Linked DNA regions of Homo sapiens: region 1 is linked to region 2. Evidence: promoter capture Hi-C in human tissues and cell types (Jung and others, 2019). All regions are on one chromosome and are shown on one strand. The core of a region is centred on a gene start or on the middle of the fragment in contact, and the rest is flanking DNA. Distances in the headings are between cores, read along the strand shown. Region 1 overlaps TPGS1 (tubulin polyglutamylase complex subunit 1). Region 2 holds the start of C2CD4C (C2 calcium dependent domain containing 4C).

Region 1 (4,736 bases), core at 2,030-4,529, 110 kb before region 2:
CAGCCTGGGCCTCCTCCCAACCTGGATCTCCCTCCTCCCAGCCTCTACCCAGCCTGGGCCTCCTCCTCCCAGCCCCCACCCAGCCTGGCCTCCCTCCTCCCAGCACCGCCCAGCCCGGGCCTCCCCTCCCCACCAGCACCCCCAGCCTCGGCCTCCTCCTCCCAACCTGGGTCTCCCTCATCCCCGCCTCCACCCAGCCTGGCCTCCCCCGTCCCAGCCCCTACCCAGCCTCGGCCTCCTCCTCCCAGCACCCCCCAGCCTGGCCTCCCCCCTCCCAGCCCCCACCCAGCCTGGCCTCCGTCCTCCCAGCACCCCCCAGCCTGGGTCTCCCCCCTTCTAGCCCCCACCCAGCCTGGCCTCCCTCCTCCCAGCCCCCACCCATCCTGGCCTCCCCCCTCCCAGCCCCCACCCAGCCTGGCCTCCGTCCTCCCAGCACCCCCCAGCCTGGGCCTCCCCCCTTCCAGCCCCCACCCATCCTGGCCTCCATCCTCCCAGCCCCCACCCAGCCTGGCCAGCCCCCACCCAGCCTGGCCTCCCCCCTCCCAGCCCCCACCCAGCCTGGCCTCCCCCCTCCCAGCCTCCACCCAGCTCAGGCCTCTCCTCCCCGCAGCTCCCATCCAGCCCTGGCTTCCCAGCTCCAACTGGACCGGCCTCAGGGCCTCTGCAAGGGCCGTGACACTGCCTTCCCCCAGATCTCCCTCACCTCCTCCCTGGTCTCCTCCAGGTCTCTCCTCAAATGTCGCCTCCCCTGACCCCTAACTCCTTTCCTCCTGTTTTCTTCCTAGTGGTCATCCTGTCTCACTCGCTGTCCCACATCCCTGTGAGCTTCATGTCTCCCACCAGTGTGAGCACCTGCCCTCCAGGGCCGGAAGTTCGTCTTGGTTATAGCCCTGGTGCCCAGAACACTGCCCTGCCCACAGTAGGTGCTCAGTAAATGTCTTGAATCAACGGCAGGCATCTGTCTGGGGCATCTGGCCCCAGTGAAGAAGGAATTAGTGAAATCAGCTCTAACCTAATAGTAGTAGTCATAGAAATTTTAAAATCCTCTTAAAGTTGCTGCAAAGTGTGACCCCCACCCTTACACTCAAGTTAAAAGAGAATGTTAACAGCCTGTCTTCTCTCTGTAGTCAGTGGACCTTATCTATACTCTCCAACTCCACATTCCTCAGTTTATTACAGGCCCAGCGAGTTCCTGCTTACCTCCCTAGCACGGCTGCAGGGTCACAAAACCGATAAGTTTAGGTTGTAAGACATGTTTTTCTCAAGATGTGAGAAATGTTGGCCAGGCACGGTGGCTCACGCCTGTAATCCCAGCACTTTGGGAGGCCGAGGTGGGAGGATCACAAGGTCAAGAGATTGAGGCCATCCTGGCCAACATGGTGAAACCCCATCTCTACTAAAAATACAAAAATTAGCGGGACGTGGTGGTACACGTCTGTAGTCCCAGCTACTCGGGAGTCTGAGGCAGGAGAATCGCTTGAACCTGGGAGGTGGAGGTTGCGGTGAGCCAAGATGGCGCCACTGCACTCCAGCCTGGGCGACAGAGCGAGACTCCGTCTCAAAAAAAAAAAAAAGAAAAAGAAAAAAGAAATGCTGTAATGCTTAACTGCCTTTGTTTCTCGCCTCTGTAACTTGCTTCCCGCCTCACGTAGTTCCCGCCTTACGATGTTTAAAAATAGGAAAAGCCCTTTGTTCGAGGCTCAGACTTTCTGGATGTATGTCCAGCTGAGCCGGTGATCACCTTGATAAACTCTCCTGAACCTTTTTCGGTCTCTCCACTCTTTGTCCCACAACACCAGGACCCTCTGGTCTCCCTCCCTGCAGCAGCAGCGCCTGTTTACATGTGGCCAAATACTGTGCCCAACATTTAACACAACTGACATTTGTTTTTTTCTTTTCTTTCTTTCTTTCTTCCTTTTTTTTTTTTTTTTGAGACGGAGTCTCGCTCTGTCGCCCGGGCTGGAGTGCAGTGGCGGGATCTCGGCTCACTGCAAGCTCCGCCTCCCGGGTTCACGCCATTCTCCTGCCTCAGCCTCCCAAGTAGCTGGGACTACAGGCGTCCGCCACTATGCCCGGCTAATTTTTTGTATTTTTAGTAGAGACGGGGTTTCACCGTTTTAGCCGGGATGGTCTCGATCTCCTGACCTCGTGATCCACCCGCCTCGGCCTCCCAAAGTGCTGGGATTACAGGCGTGAGCCACCGCGCCCGGCCCTCTTTCTTTTTTTGAGACAGTGTCTCACTCTGTTGTCAGGCTGGAGTGCAGTGGCACAATCTCAGCTCACAGCAACCTCCACCTCCCGGGTTCAAGCGATTCTCCTGCCTCAGCCTCCTGAGCTGCTGGGATTACAGGCGTGTGTTACCACACCCAGCTAATTTTTGTATTTTTAGTAGAGACGGGGTTTCACCATGTCGGCCAGGATGGTCTGGATCTCGAGTGACCTCGTGGTCCGCCCACCTCGGCCTCCCAAAGTGCTGGGATTACAGGTGTGAGCCACTGCGCCCAGTCTGTGCTGAACATTTAACACAGCTGACATTGCATTTTTTCTTTTTTTTTTTTTTTTGAGACAGGGTCTCACTGTGTTGTGCAGGCTGGAGAGCAGTGGTACAATCAGGGCTCACAGCAGCCTCCACCTCCTGGGCTCAAGCGATCCTCCTGCCTCAGCCTCCCAAACTGCTGGGATTACAGGTGACAGTTGCTGCTCGGGGCCAGTGGTGGTATTTCTCTCCCCACAATCCCACAGGCAAGGCCCCACAGTCAGCCTGAGGGTCAAATACGACCTGCTGCCTGCTTTTGTAAATAAAGCTTTATCGGAACATAACCACATCAGTCCGCTGACATGTGGCCTGTGGCAGCTTCCGACCAGAACCGTAGAGCTGAATGTCAGGATGGAGGCTGCCACGCAAAGCTGAAATGTTCACTATCTGGCCCCTTACAGAAGAAGGCTGTCAGCCCTGCTGCCGGCTCTGGGGTGGGTTCGATTCCCTGCCCCAGTGAGGAGCCTGAGGCCTTACTACGTGCCACTCGTGTGCTGGTAGTGTGACACACACTCCCGTGGAGGGCACCAGGGAGTGGCCAGGGAGCACCGTGGCCAGCGTGGGGGCCGCTGCAGGACCCTGGGTGGGCTGCTTAACCCCCTGGCCTCACTCCCCCCATCAGTTCCCGGCCAGGCCTCATGCTAGTGGCCTGTTACTTCCTCTGGGACATATAGGGAAACTGAGGCTCAGGGCAGCCCCATGGTCTGGCCAAGGGTCCCAGAGAGGAAGTGGCCAACCTCAGGGCTTACGCTTTTCCCTTCTGGGAGCTCAGCTTCATGGTGAGGAGGGCAGCCTTCCCTCCGGCATGACCTGGGCACACGACTTCACCTTTCTGTGGGCCACCTGTGGTAGGTGCCGGGGAAGTGCTAAGCCAGCATGCAGTAGGTGCTCAGTAAATGCAGGGTTGGTGTGCAGCAGGTGCTCAGTAATGCAGGGCTGGTACACAGTAGGTGCTCAGTGATGCTGGGCCAGAATGCAATAGGTGCTCAGTAAATGTGGGGCTGGTGTGCAATAGGTACTCAGTAATGCTGGGGCGGTGTGCAGTGGGTGCTCAGTAAATGCTGGGCCAGTAAGCAATAGGTGCTTAGTAAACGTGGGGTCGGTGTGCAGTGGGTGCTCAGTAATACAGGGCCGGTGTAGAGTAGGTGCTCAGTGAATGCAGGGCCAGTACACGGTAGGTACTCAGTAATGCTGGGGCGGTGTGCAGTGGGAGTGAAGTAAATGCTGGGCCAGCATGCAATAGGTGCTCAGTAAATGTAGGGTCAGTGTGCAGTGGGTGCTCAGTAATACAGGGCTGGTGTACAGTAGGTGCTTAGTGAATGCAGGGCTGGTACATAGTAGGTGCTCAGCAAATGTGGGGCCAGTGTGCAGTGGGTGCTCAGTAATGCTGGGTCTGTGTACAGTGGGTGCTCAGTAAATGCTGGGCCAGCATGCAATAGGTGCTCAGTAAATGTGGGGCCGGGGCAGGTTGGTGTGCAGCAGGTGCTCAGTAATGCAGGACTAGTGCACAGTAGGTGCTCAGTAATGCTGGGGTTGTGTGCAGTGGGTGCTCACTAAATGCTGGGCCAGGATGCAATAGGTGCTCAGTAAATGTGGGGCCAGTGTGCAGTAGGTGCTCAGTAAATGTGGGGCTGGTGTGCAGTAGGTACTCAGTAATGCTGGGCTGGTGTGCAGTAGGTACTCAGTAATGCTGGGCTGGTGTGCAGTAGGTACTCAGTAATGCTGGGCTGGTGTGCAGTAGGTACTCAGTAATGCAGGGCCAGTATGCAGTAGGTGCTCAGTAATGCTGGGCTGGTGTGCAGTAGGTGTTCAGTAATGCAGGGCCGGCATGCAGTAGGTGCTCAGTAAATGCTGGGCGGGTGCACAGTAGGTGCTCAGTAATGCTGGGCCGGTGCACGGTGGGTGCCTGGTGAACACGTGCCTCCCTGGTCATCACTGCTGCTCAGTTCAGGGCTTAGGGATGGACGTGCCATCTCAGCGAGCTCGAGGGTCAAAGCTCTGCTATGGAGGAGGAAACTGAGGCCCAGAGGCAGGAGGGCAGCGACCTGCAATTCAACTCTAGGCCCATCTGGCTGTACGCTCCTTTTCCCTCCCAAGTAGTAAAGGCCCCATTTGTTGGCCCTTATAATCCGCTGGGCGCTTTTACCATCCATGAGGTCATCCCCAAAATGCGCTGGGGGCAGTCGCAGTGTCAGCGCGG
Region 2 (4,751 bases), core at 1,377-3,876:
GACCAGCTCTGGATTTGTGTCCTAGCATGGAGACAGGCATAGTGTAAACTCAGTGCCTCATCCCCCAACCCAGCTGGCAGGAGAGGCTCTGCCCCCACCTGGGCTGGGCAGGGGTGCCGGAGAGCGAACCCCCAATACCTGGGGCTGGCCTGATGTCAGGAGACCCGTCACTGCCCCTTCCTAGGACCCAAGCTGTCCGCTTCCCTCCCCAGGCCCTGCTGTCCTTGTCTGCAATGGAGGAGGGTGGCTCTGTGGCCCCTGAGGCCCCCTCTCCTCGGGCCTGCTGAAAGAGCACTGTTTCGGGGCCATCGTGGCGATGCTATTCACCCATTTGTTTGGCAAATGTTTACTGGAGACATGGCTGGCCTGTGCCTTGGGGCCACTACAGGGACAGGACCTCCAGGACCCTCCTCCCGGCTCGGGCCCAGCAGAGACGGTGGACAGACCCCCAGGATCCGGGCCCAGCAGAGACGGTGGACAGACCCCCAGGATCCGGGCCCAGCAGGGGCGGTGGACAGACCCCCAGGATCCGGGCCCAGCAGAGACGGTGGACAGACCCCCAGGATCCGGGCCCAGCAGGGGCGGTGGACAGACCCCCAGGATCCGGGCCCAGCAGGGGCGGTGGACAGACCCCCAGGATCCGGGCCCAGCAGGGGCGGTGGACAGACCCCCAGGATCCGTGCCCAGCAGGGGCGGTGGACAGACCCCCAGGATCCGGGCCCAGCAGGGGCGGTGGACAGACCCCCAGGATCCGGGCCCAGCAGGGGCGGTGGACAGACCCCCAGGATCCGGGCCCAGCAGGGGCGGTGGACAGACCCCCAGGATCCGGGCCCAGCAGGGGCGGTGGACAGACCCCCAGGATCCGGGCCCAGCAGGGGCGGTGGACAGACCCCCAGGATCCGGGCCCAGCAGTGACGGTGGACAGACCCCCAGGATCCGTGCCCAGCAGGGGCGGTGGACAGATCCCCAGGATCCGGGCCCAGCAGGGGCAGTGGACAGACCCCCAGGACCCTCCTCCCGCCTCAGGCCCAGCAGGGGTGGTGGACAGCAGCCCAAGGGTATTCTGCATGGCAGCTGGAGCTGGGGTTCGGGGGCCCTGCTAGTCTGTGGTGGGGCCTGCCCAGGCTTCCTGGAGGCGGCGGCGGTGAAGGGGAGAATTCCTCGGTGTCTGCCTCCTTGTCAGACTTCGGGGCTGCGTCGCGGTTGCCCCAGCACAAAAATGAGGGCTCATCAACGTTTGCTGGGTGAGCAAAGCTTAGATGGGGTCACAGCTCCTCCGGGTTTCACTTTCCCCTCTGGACGGCAGGACTCTAACCCCTTATTGCAAGGGTACGTGGAGAGTGGGGAGGCCTCAGCCCAGCTCTCTCGCCCTCCTGGACCCCTCTTCTACCACTGTGGCAGCAGCCGCTCCTCCCAGCTTGGGCCACATCCAGACTTGGGGACATTCCCAGAATGCAGGAGGCTCCTGGACAATCAATAATTCAATAAAGCGCCAGGCGTCCGCCGGCTCCGGGTTGGTCCTGGGGATATGTTATCTTGCTGGCTCCAAGCACGAGGAGGCTGGGAACTGCTCAGCTCGGTTCCAGAAGAGGAAACTGAGGCGGGGAGGGCAGGGAGGGAGGGAGAGAAGGAAGCAGTGAAGGCCGGGGCTGGCAGATCACGAAGCAGCTGGCAGGAGGGGGGTCGGGGCCTCAGGAGGGGGGGACCCTGTGGTCTCAGGAACTGCCAGGAAGCCTGGGTTTGGACCTGGTCTTGCCCCCTATGGGTTTCTCCATCCGTGAATCACACGCATGTGCCTTCTCTCTTCGCCCCGACCCTCACGCTTTCCTGCTGTATTCCTGTTCCGGGCGTCACCACCCCTGCAGTTCTAAGCTGCACCTGTACGCTCTGTGGGCATCCTGCCCCTGCATCACCAGGGCTGGGGCCACCTCCCTCCGTCCCAGCTGTGTCCCCGGTGGCCAGGTCACTGTCCAGCATCAAGCGGGTGCTCAGGAAACGTTTGTCCATGAAATGAAGGAGCCCCCCCCTTCCAGGCTTCTTGTAGGGCTGCTGAGAGGTTGCCCATTTAGTAAGACCTGCTGTCCTAGCTGTTCGGTCCTTGTTTCTGGAAGGAAACCCCCCACCTTCCTCATCTACAGATTGAGAATTGCAGTAGGACCTGCGTACTGGGTTGTGTGAGAGTCAGAGACCCGCCAGGACGCTGGGAGGCTGGCAGGGAGGAAACGCTCCATCATAAACCCAGCTGCATTTATTACTGTTGCCGTCATTTAATTCGTCGTCGTTAGTCGGGAAAGCTCCTCGCCGGCAGCGAGTAGGGGGTCTGGGACCCTCTTCCGGTATACGGAGGCAGGGGCTTGGGAGTCCGACTTCCCGGAATCTGCGGGCGTGAGCGCCGGGGGTGGCCGTCAGCCAACCGTGACCACCTGCTTGTCTCCCACCGGCCCCCAGTCAGCCCCCGGGCCCTGGCGAGGCTCCTCCCTGCCACCAGCCTCCGGGGGCTGCGGGGAGACGGCCCCACCCCCTTCCCGCGGGGGCGGGGGCGCGGGCGCGGGCGCGGGCGGCCGTACTCGGAGGAATACGGCGGCGGCGGCGGCGGGGCTGGGCGGTTTCCCGCCGCGGGTGAATGAGTCCGACTGCGCTGCCGCCGCCGCCGCCGCCCGCATCGAAGCTCCGGCCGCGTCCCCCGCGCCAGCCCCGGGAGCCTGCGCGCCGAGACCCCTGCGTGTCTGCGAACAGACCTCCGGCCTCGGGCCATCACCCCGGGCAGGTAAGTCCGGGGACCCCGCCCGGTCTGCGGGGACCGCCGGGACCCCACCCCCCACCCCAAGCGGAGTCGGGGAGGGCTGGGGGCGGGGGGACACCGGGGAGTCGACTCGCTGCTCTCTCGGCCCCAGACCTACCGCCCCTCCCTTCCCCCACCCCGAACGCCTGGCCCTCCGGTCCAGGGAGGAGCCACAGGTGGGTGGGAGCCGGGGGGGCGGAGCTGGGACACCCCGGGGGTCCACCCACATCCGTGTCTTCCCCTGGGACTGAGCGCGGAACCCTTTGGAATGAGCGCTGAGATGCTCAAAACCAGAGTGGGGGCGGGCGAGGGGCCAGTCTCCTCTGGGAGCTCCCCGGAGAGTCAGAGCGCGGCCCCCACGCCCCTGGGCTTGGTGCTGGGAAGTTAAGCGGGATCTCTCCGGAAAAAGGTGGGGGGAACCCGCCTCACTCCTGTCCTGGGCCGCCGCGCCTGGGCGGGACGCCCCCAGGGGACCCCTCCACCCCCACCCCGCCGGCAGGGCCCTGCCGGGAGGCCCCACAGGGAGCAGGTGCCCAGGGCCCTCTGCCAGCCGCCCCCCACTGCTCCTGACCCCTGCTTCTCTTCCCAGACGCTGCAGCCCCTGTCCGGGCCTCTTGCCTGCCGCCCCCATGAGAAAAACCAACATGTGGTTCTTGGAGCGGCTTCGGGGGTCTGGGGAAAACGGTGCTGCCCGGGGCGTGGGGAGTGAGGCGGGGGACAAGGCCTCCAAGGGGCCCCTGTACAGCAATGTGTTGACGCCCGACAAGATCCCCGACTTTTTCATCCCCCCCAAGCTGCCCTCGGGCCCCGCGGAGGGCGAGGGACAGGCCGCGCTGGGCCCCTCCACGTCGGAACAGAACCTGGCCTCTGCGGCCCCCCGCCAGACCCCACGGAGCCCCCGGCTGCCTGCCAAGCTGGCAGCCGAGAGCAAGAGCCTGCTGAAGGCAGCCACCCGGCACGTGATCCAGATCGAGAGTGCCGAGGACTGGCTGTCCGAGGAGGCCACTGACGCCGACCCCCAGGCCCAGGGTGCCATGTCCCTGCCCTCGGTGCCCAAGGCCCAGACGTCCTACGGCTTCGCCATGCTGGCTGAGAGCCCCCACACGAGGCGCAAGGAGTCTCTGTTCCACAGTGAGCACGGGGCTCTGGCCCAGGTGGGCTCCCCAGGGGCCGGGCGCCGCCGGGCAGCTGCCAAGGCCAACGGGGGTGATGGGGGCCCCAGGGAGGCTGGCGGGGCCCTCATGAGCCCCGGCCGCTACTTCAGTGGCGGGGAGAGCGACACAGGGTCCTCGGCCGAGTCCTCCCCCTTCGGGTCCCCTCTGCTGTCCCGCTCCGTGTCTCTGCTCAAAGGTTTCGCCCAGGACAGCCAGGCCAAGGTGAGCCAGCTCCGGCACTCCGTGGGCCGCCACGGCTCCCTGTCTGCGGACGACAGCACCCCGGACGCCAGCCCCGGGAGCCGGCGCCGCCTGACCCGCCGGGCACCCCCGGAACCTGGCCCCGAGTCGGGCCAGGCGCGTGGGGAGCACACGGTCCACGTGGGCCCTCGGGGCAGCGTGCGGCTGCTGGCCGAGTACGAGGCCGGCCAGGCCCGCCTGCGGGTGCACCTGCTGGCCGCCGAGGGCCTCTACGACCGCCTGTGCGACGCCCGCAGCATCAACTGCTGCGTGGGCCTGTGCCTGGTGCCGGGCAAGCTGCAGAAGCAGCGCAGCACCATCGTGAAGAACAGCCGCCGCCCCGTCTTCAACGAGGATTTCTTCTTCGACGGCCTGGGGCCCGCCAGCGTCCGGAAACTGGCCCTCAGGATCAAGGTGGTGAACAAGGGCAGCAGCCTCAAGCGGGACACGCTGCTCGGGGAGAAGGAGCTGCCCCTGACCTCCCTGCTCCCCTTCCTGTAGAGCGGGGACCTGCTCGCTGTCCGCTCGGGTGCAGAGGGCAGACCCCGGTCTCTCCTCCACACCGGGTGCTGGCG

Evidence for each region. The method cuts DNA at HindIII sites, captures the fragments that hold promoters and counts their contacts. A contact is called where the count stands out against the background at its distance.
Region 1: a fragment that was not itself captured here is called in contact with the fragment with the promoter of C2CD4C in region 2 in 4 of the 25 tissues and cell types used here (IMR-90 fibroblasts, dorsolateral prefrontal cortex, mesendoderm cells and 1 more).

Annotation. Positions count from the first base shown.
Region 1 is chr19:513,227-517,962 of GRCh38, reverse strand. All of the region lies in intron 1 of TPGS1 (tubulin polyglutamylase complex subunit 1), which reads right to left. Among named protein-coding and RNA genes, the nearest start is that of MADCAM1-AS1, 7.7 kb to the right of the region's middle. The HindIII fragment of the contact is 7,591 bases long and covers 1-4,736 here.
Region 2 is chr19:407,022-411,772 of GRCh38, reverse strand. It overlaps C2CD4C (C2 calcium dependent domain containing 4C), which reads left to right and starts at 2,626. Exons shown (of 2, transcript NM_001136263.2): 1 at 2,626-2,767; 2 at 3,372-4,751. The coding sequence starts at 3,412. The coding sequence ends at 4,677. LOC124904607 (proline-rich proteoglycan 2-like) reads left to right here. Exons shown (of 2, transcript XM_047439790.1): 2 at 213-2,251. The coding sequence starts at 317. The coding sequence ends at 1,480. RefSeq lists an enhancer at 3,883-4,751. The HindIII fragment of the contact is 18,208 bases long and covers 1-4,751 here.